Linked DNA regions of Homo sapiens: region 1 is linked to region 2. The links are contacts of gene promoters, found by promoter capture Hi-C in blood cells and fetal thymus (Javierre and others, 2016). All regions are on one chromosome and are shown on one strand. Each heading gives the region's core, a stretch centred on a gene start or on the middle of the fragment in contact. The rest is flanking DNA. Distances are from core to core; before and after follow the strand shown. Region 1 has its middle 80 kb from the start of SPIN1. Region 2 holds the start of NXNL2 (nucleoredoxin like 2).

Region 1 (3,585 bases), core at 127-2,626, 230 kb before region 2:
TGCTCACCCCAGAATCCTGCGTGCGTGCTCAGCCTCCTGTGACCCCCTCTTCTTGCCGCCTAGTCCCCGTGTGGTGGAAGGGTGGTGATGCCCAGGACACAGGGGCTGCTCCAGGCTCATCTGGACCCAACCCCTCCAACCCCTTTCATCACCTTTCAGAATGAAAAGGCAAATCCATATTTGGGGGCTACAAAGTCTTATTTCTGAGGGGAATATCTTAAAAGCCTTTTTTTCCTGCCTTGAGGAACTTTTCCAGATATAGCCAAATATAACCAATCTCTGACAACGTTTAGATGTGATGTGTAATTAATAGGTGCCACTGAAATAAACTGCAAAACTTGGTTGTGAAATCCTTGAAACCGCCTTAATGTCTGTATTATTGTCATAAGCTATTTGACTCTAAATGTATATGTAATAAAGATTGAATCTGGGCCGGGGGTGGTGGCTCAGACCTGTAATCCCAGCACTTTGGGAGGCCAAGGCGGGCGGATCACCTGAGGTCAGGAGTTCAAGACCAGTCTGGCCAACATGATGAAACCCTGTCTCTACTAAAAATACGAAAAATTATCCAGGCATGGTGGCGGGCACCTGTAATCCCAGCTACTCAGGAGGCTGAGGCAGGAGAATCGCTTGAACCCGAGAGGCAGAGGTTGCAGTGAGCCGAGATCATGCCACTGCACTCCAGCCTGGGCAACAAGAGTGAAACTCCATCTCAAAAAAAAAAAAAAAAAAAAAAAAGATTGAATCTGTAAATGCATAGGTGCACTAACTTTACTGTGAATTGGAATGCTTTTTTACATGGCCATCTGATCTTGTTGGGGCATTCGCTTCTACTTGTATCTCTGGCAACTTTTTCTTTCTCTTTTTGTAACCAGTGCCCTTCCTGGGAACCAGGCAAGTCTCCAGGCCCTGGCTCCTGTCTGTGTTGACACTTTCCCTTCCTGATGCATTATAGCAGGCTGTGTTTTCCAAAGATAGCTACAGAAATATCTCCCATCGCGTGTGTACTCCTACAACGTGACCTGGCCGCTTCTTCCCCGAGAGGTGAGGTCTAGGTCTCCTCCCCTTGAATTGTCCCTTTTTGCCCAGGGTATTCTCAGTACTAGCAAGGAAAGTCCCCAAAACTAGCAAAGGGCTGGGCACGGTGGCTCACGCCTGTAATCCCAGCACTTTGGGAGGCCAAGGCGGGTGAATCACTTGAGGTCAGGAGTTTGAGACCAGCCTGACCAATATAGTGAAACCCTGTCTCTACTAGAAATACAAAAAATCGGCCGGGCATGGTGGCTCACGCCTGTAATCCTAGCACTTTGGGAGGCCAAGGCAGGCAGATCACGAGGTCAGGAGATCGAGACCATCCTGGCTAACATGGTGAAACCCTGTCTCTACTAAAAACACAAAAAATTAGCCAGGCGTGGTGGCGGGCACCTGTGGTCCCAGCTACTCAGGAGAATGGCACGAACCTGGGAGGCGGAGTTTGCAGTGAGTGGAGATCGTGCCATTGCACTCCAGCCTGGGCGACAGAGCGAGACTCCGTCTCAAAAAAACAAACACAAAAAAAAGCAATACAAAAAATTAGCCAGGTGTGGTAGCACATGCCTGTAATACCAGCTACTTGGGAGGCTGAGACAGGAGAATCACTTGAACCTGGGAGGCAGAGGTTGCAGTGACCTGAGATGGCACCATTGCACTCCAGCCTGGGCAACAAGAGCAAAACTCAGTCTAAACAACAACAAACAAAACAAAACAAAAAAACAGCAAAGACTCCCTGGCAAACTGGGATAGCTGGGCACCCAGCTACGGATCTGGGTGGGTTTAGGCTAGCTCCAACCAAAACAGCAGGCTGAGACAGACATTGTGAGTTCCAAAGCTGGGTCATAAAAGCCTGGATGAGGCTTCCTCCAGGTTCTCCTATGTATTAGTCACATTTTTTGTCTTCTGTATCTTATAATTATTTTTTTAGAGATGAGGTCTTGCTATGTTGTCCAGGTAGGTCTGGAACTCCTGGCCTCAAGCAATCCTTCCATCTAGGATTCAAGGCACGTGCCACCATGCCCAGGTCTTTTATAATGTTTTGACATCTTAAAAACCTGGCTGGCCAGGGAGAGACTGCCCCTCCAGGGGTTAAGCCATTCTTAGAGCTAGCCAAGGGCTTTGTGTTGAGACCCTGTCTTTCCTATGCAAACCAATCAATTCCAAGTCTATACCCCAGCCACCCCGTTTATCTTACTCTCACACACCAAGCCAATATTTTCCCCTGTCCTGAATCATCCCAGAGCTAGGTACCAGGCAACTAGAGACCACCCCTAAAGCCCAAAGCCTACTGGAATCATTTGAACTAGCCCATCCTAAACTGTTTCCCCTCCTCTGCTCTGCCATTCTCATGGAAGCCCCGGTAAAAGCTCTGGCCTCAGCTTCCCCCTCACTCCTGCTCCCGCCTCCTGACCAAAACCTGGCACTCGGTTTTGGGTGGTCTGCCATGAGCAACAGAAAGCAGAACAACATGCAGCTTGGAGGATATGGAAAAGCCAATTCTCCTTACATCATCCCAGGATTTTCAGATGGTGCTTTTTTAGGAACTAGAGGTTCTTCCAGTACTCAGGACCACACAGGATGAAAAGCTGAGGGAAAATGCCTGTCCCCACCACCTTCCAACCAGAATAGCCGTGGTTTTCATCTGTTTTGGTTACTTCTGAGAAGAAAAATTTCCCATGAAGAAAGAGGTTCTCTGGTTTCTGAGCATTCTTAGGCTTGAACAATGCTGGAACACTCCGCAATTTAAAAAAACTAGATAAGGAAACTGAGGTCCATGAGGGGAGGCCCCAGGCCTGGAGGCAAGCTCCAAATAACATAGAAGCCGTTCTGGTCCACTTGCAATTTTGATTATTTCATGCCCAGTGACCCATTTTATCCCACAAATCAAGAGAAGAAACAAGCTTTGTTCCTGCCTTCTAAATTTAGCCCGTTAGGCTGGCAACTAAACTGTGTTAGGCGGTCTCCAAGCAATACACCTGTGTTTCTCATTACGTCTTTCATTTCCATGGTTTTGATCCTTTCCCACTTTGGGAACCAATTTCCTTATCACATTTGAATAACTTCAGTGGTGAGCCAAAAAACAACCAGGATATTCACACTTAAATTCATAGCATTCAAAATCTAATGTAGTGATTCTCACTGTGTATTTTATTTTTCAAACAAGAGGGGGCCTAATTACAATAGACTCACACAGATTGCTTAATATCTAGTGCTAGGCTTTTACTGATAAGACATCACATGCAAAGCACGTTGAAATACAGCTGATGTGTCCATCAGCATGGGCGATACTCAGAAATACTCACAACTATCAAATTGCTCAGATCCCTCAAACACAGAATCTCACTCTCTTGCCCAGGCTGGTGTGCAGTGGCGCTGTCTTGGCTCACTGTAACTTCCGTCTCTTGGATTCGAGTGATTCTCCTGCCTGAGCCTCCCAAGTAGCTGGGATTACAGGCATGCACCACCGTGCCCAGCTATTTTTTTTTTTTTTTTTTGTATTTGTAGTAGAGACGGGGTTTTGAGATGGAGTCTCACTCTGTCACCCAGGCTGGA
Region 2 (3,946 bases), core at 550-3,049:
TGACAAAGTTTGTCTAGGTGTGGTGTGGACTTCTGCTGTGATAAGAGTCCATCCTCCCGGGAGGGAATTTACGACAATCAGTTTCTTTTGGAGGTTCCGTCTTTAGACAGGTAAGGGGAGAACGTCTCTCTGCATTTGCTATTTTTCAAGTGCCTCTCGCTCAAAATAATCAATATACCAAAGCGGCATATTTTAGGATGGCATATTTTGGTTTCATTCACTGTCTTTAAGTTTTTGATATTTTGTTCATTATAAACTTTTTTTGCATTCATTTTGACTTTTTAAGATATTGTATTAAAACATTATTTACCTTGACTACTGAGTTTTTTTGTCGCGCCCTTAAATTTTGCCCCTATGCGAGTGCCTCGCTCGCTTGCCTCCTTCTAGCCCGGGTCTGGCAGGGAGTTGAAATTATTTTTCTCACTGCTGAATTCCCAGGGCCTACAACAGTGCTCGCCAAAAAATTAATACTCTTGGTTCTTCAAATAAAACATTCTGTAAGGACTGCTCCCAATTTCTTCCTGAACTTCACGAACCCTCCCAGCCAGGCCACAGGATGTCAGGGGCAAACACCCTGAACCAACGGAGCTCAGGTTCCCTACCACCCCGCCCAAGCCCGCTCCAAGCCCAATTACCCTTCCCCTTCCTCGTCGTCCCATCCTCCCTGATGCCTCTTCCAGGGTGCTGGGCCGCGCGGCAAGAGCTCCAAGGCAAGATTCAAATGCCCTGGGGAGACGGCTGCGGGACACCTGCGGCGGGGCCCGGCAGGGAGCGCGAGACTGGAAGAGAGGCCAGGAGGGAAGGAGAGCGACGCGGGGTTTTGGGGGAGGGGCTGCGTGGGGCGCTGAAGGGGAGCGCGAGGAGTGGGAGGAAGTGAAGGAGGAGGAAGAGCACGGTGTGGGGGAAGCGCAGGAGGCAATAGGTGGGGCGGGACGGAGGGCAGGGCGCTGCGTCGGGAGAAAGTGTAGAAGCGCTGGGGAGAGTGCCCACGACGGGAGAGCCCAGGGGCGCGAGGGCGCGGGAGTGTGGGCGGGGCGCAGTGGGGATGGGGGCGGGGGCGCGGGATGTGGTAGGGGGCGTAGTGGGGAGAGAGTGCAGGAGTGTGGGCAGGGCGCAGTGTGGGGAGGGTGCGGGAGTGTGAGCGGGGCGCAGTGGAGGGAGTGCAGGATGTGGGCTGGACAACCAGTGGGAGAGGGCGCGGGAGGTGGGCGGGGCGCAGTCGGGATGGGGGCGGGGGCGCGGGATGTCGGCGGGCCGCAGTGAGGGGGAGGGCGCGGGAGTGTGGGCGGGGCGCAGTGGGGGAGGGAGCGGGAGTGTGCGCGGGGCGCAGTGAGGGGAAACTGTGGAATGTGGGCGAGGCGCAGTTGGAGAAGAGTGCGGGGATGTGGGCGGGGCGCAGTGAGGGGAAACTGTGGAATGTGGGCGAGGCGCAGTTGGAGGAGAGTGCGGGGATGTGGGCGGGGTGCGGTGGGGGAGGGTGCGGAGATGTGGGCGGGGCGCAGTGGGTGGAGAGTGTAGGGATGTGGGCCCAGCGCAGTGGGGGACAGTGTGGGGATGCGGGCGAGGCGCAGTGGGGGCGGGGGCGGGGATGTGGGCGGGGCGCAGTGGGTGGAGAGTGCGGGATGTGGGCGGGGCGCAGTGGGTGGAGAGTGCGGAATGTGGGCGGGGCGCAGTTGGGGAGCTTGCGGGGAATGTGGGCGGGGCGCAGTGGTGGGAGGGCGCAGGAGTGTGGGCGGGGCGCAGTTGGGGGAGGGTGCAGAGACCTGAGGGCTTGAGGTTGCCTGGCTGGCCCCGCTCCCAGAGGCGGGTGCCGCGCTGTCGCCCAGGTATCTGGGGTCTCTGGTGTCTGAGTGTCTCATTGTCGGCGCGAACACAATTGCTCCAGCCACAGGCGAGGCCTGGCCAAGGTGTGGGCGCATCTGGGGCAGGTCTTGAGAGGTCCAGCGCCCGGTGGTGCGGACAGAGGCGGGGCACCGCGGCGCTCGCCGCCGCCTCCCCGCAGGTGATCATCCTCCTGCAGGTGTCCTCGGGTCTCAGGTGGCTGCGTGTCTGCGCCATGGTTGACATTCTGGGCGAGCGGCACCTGGTGACCTGTAAGGGCGCGACGGTGGAGGCCGAGGCGGCGCTGCAGAACAAGGTGGTGGCACTGTACTTCGCGGCGGCCCGGTGCGCGCCGAGCCGCGACTTCACGCCGCTGCTCTGCGACTTCTATACGGCGCTGGTGGCCGAGGCGCGGCGGCCCGCGCCCTTCGAAGTGGTCTTCGTGTCAGCCGACGGCAGCTCCCAGGAGATGCTGGACTTCATGCGCGAGCTGCATGGCGCCTGGCTGGCGCTGCCCTTCCACGACCCCTACCGGCAGTGAGTGGGGGTCCTGGGGGGGCGGGGGCCGCCCGGCACGTCTCCCCCATGTTCCCCCAGGCCTCCCCCTCTGCACTGGGGAGCTCTTTATGACGCCCCCCCCCAACACCTCCCCGTCTCTCGGTTCACGTCCGGACTCCGGTAAATCACACTCAGTCTCAGTTTCAACCTCTCTTGGAGACCAGGGAGGGTGCAGACCAGATTCGAAAACCCAGGGCATCGGCACCCCAAGGGGGCTCGTGGAGCATGGACGCGGGCGCGTTTCTGCCTGGGGTCTGGAGCTCCGGGAATCTGCATTGCGAAGGAGCTCCCAGTGGTGGTGATGCTGTGAGTTCGCGGGCTCGGCTCCGGGAACCGCCGGCCCAATCAGCCCTGGACTCCCGGCGCCGCTGCGTCATCCTCCCAGTTAGTGGGCAGGAAGCACAGGGACATGACCCGGTGTCTGGATGCGGGGATGAGGGATGACCCGCGAGGACATCAGCTCTGTGACAGGCACCCACAGTGCAGGCCGTGGTTGGTTTGCTGGGAGGGAGGGACGGGGGCTTCAAGGCTGGCAGGAACCCAGGTGCTGGCCACCTTTGCGGTTTCATTTTTACCGACACTGATGGAATTTCATCACTAGAGAAGCATAAAACTCATTACTATAAACTTTATTACTCTAACTGTTGCAAAGGAGGGGGTAGGGATTGGCAGAGAGGGGATTACAGGGATTGATTGTTCTGCTTTTGGGGTGGGTCTCCTGTGGTCTCCTATGGTGTAAGAGTCCAGACTTAGGTTTAAAGCAGGCCTCGTCAAGTATGTTGTCCTGGCCACCCCCTTCTAGGTACCAATGTGAATTTCTGGGTTTTGCTTTACAGCCTCACATTTCTGGAGATTATCATTAAGTTGTGGCATTACCCCCTAAACTGATTATCATGAGATGACATTCCTTCTGGAAAATGAAAACTGGAAGCTAACTTTGGAAAGTTTTGTAGATGAGTAATTAATGGGAAGAAATCTAATTATTCCCCCAAACATGATTTTTGGTGATTCCCAGTGAAAGAGGAGGCCCAGGCAGGGCACCGCCCAGCCTTCCAGGGGGGTAACCTGCTTCTGGGAGCCTCACTCACACCGGGACTCTGAAAGTTCTATTGATAATGAATCTCCAAGATGGGTGGTTCACTTTGCAAAAGGATTTCTTACAGAATCAGTTCAAGTGGTGCTTTTAAAAACAGGATTGGACTTGTTTAGTACTCAAGTTATTTGTAAGCTTTTGAAAGAACGCAGGTTTGAAAGCGAGAGACGATGGCAGTATCATTATAGTAATTAGGCACAAAGCTCTGGCCCAGCTCTGGGATTTACTTGCCAGGTGATGGCAGGCAAGGTATTTTATTGCTGAGCATATGATACATCACGTGGTTGTTGTCAGGGTTGAGCTGATCACATATGAGCTCATGTGTCCGCTGGTTATGTCCCAGCTCTCTAGTCTATTGCCCCATTTTACAGATGTGCCATTGAGGCATAGAGTTCAGTTCTCCTGGCTCTGAGGACCCTCTTTCTGCCGTGCCCTACTTCCTCACTGAGGGGGTGGTGAGTCTTGGTCCCCAGC

Evidence for each region. The method cuts DNA at HindIII sites, captures the fragments that hold promoters and counts their contacts. A CHiCAGO score of 5 or more calls a contact.
Region 1: a fragment that was not itself captured here is called in contact with the fragment with the promoter of NXNL2 in region 2 in 1 of 17 cell types (megakaryocytes); the score reaches 5.0 in megakaryocytes.

What each region holds. Positions count from the first base shown.
Region 1 is chr9:88,306,388-88,309,972 of GRCh38, forward strand. No RefSeq gene overlaps it. Among named protein-coding and RNA genes, the nearest start is that of SPIN1, 80 kb to the right of the region's middle. The HindIII fragment of the contact is 3,110 bases long and covers 1-2,931 here.
Region 2 is chr9:88,533,379-88,537,324 of GRCh38, forward strand. NXNL2 (nucleoredoxin like 2) reads left to right here and starts at 1,800. Exons shown (of 2, transcript NM_001161625.2): 1 at 1,800-2,358. The coding sequence starts at 2,057. LOC105376134 (a long non-coding RNA gene) reads right to left here and starts at 1,162. Exons shown (of 2, transcript XR_007061653.1): 1 at 636-1,162. RefSeq lists enhancers at 1,586-2,420, 2,421-3,254. The HindIII fragment of the contact is 6,313 bases long and covers 1-3,605 here.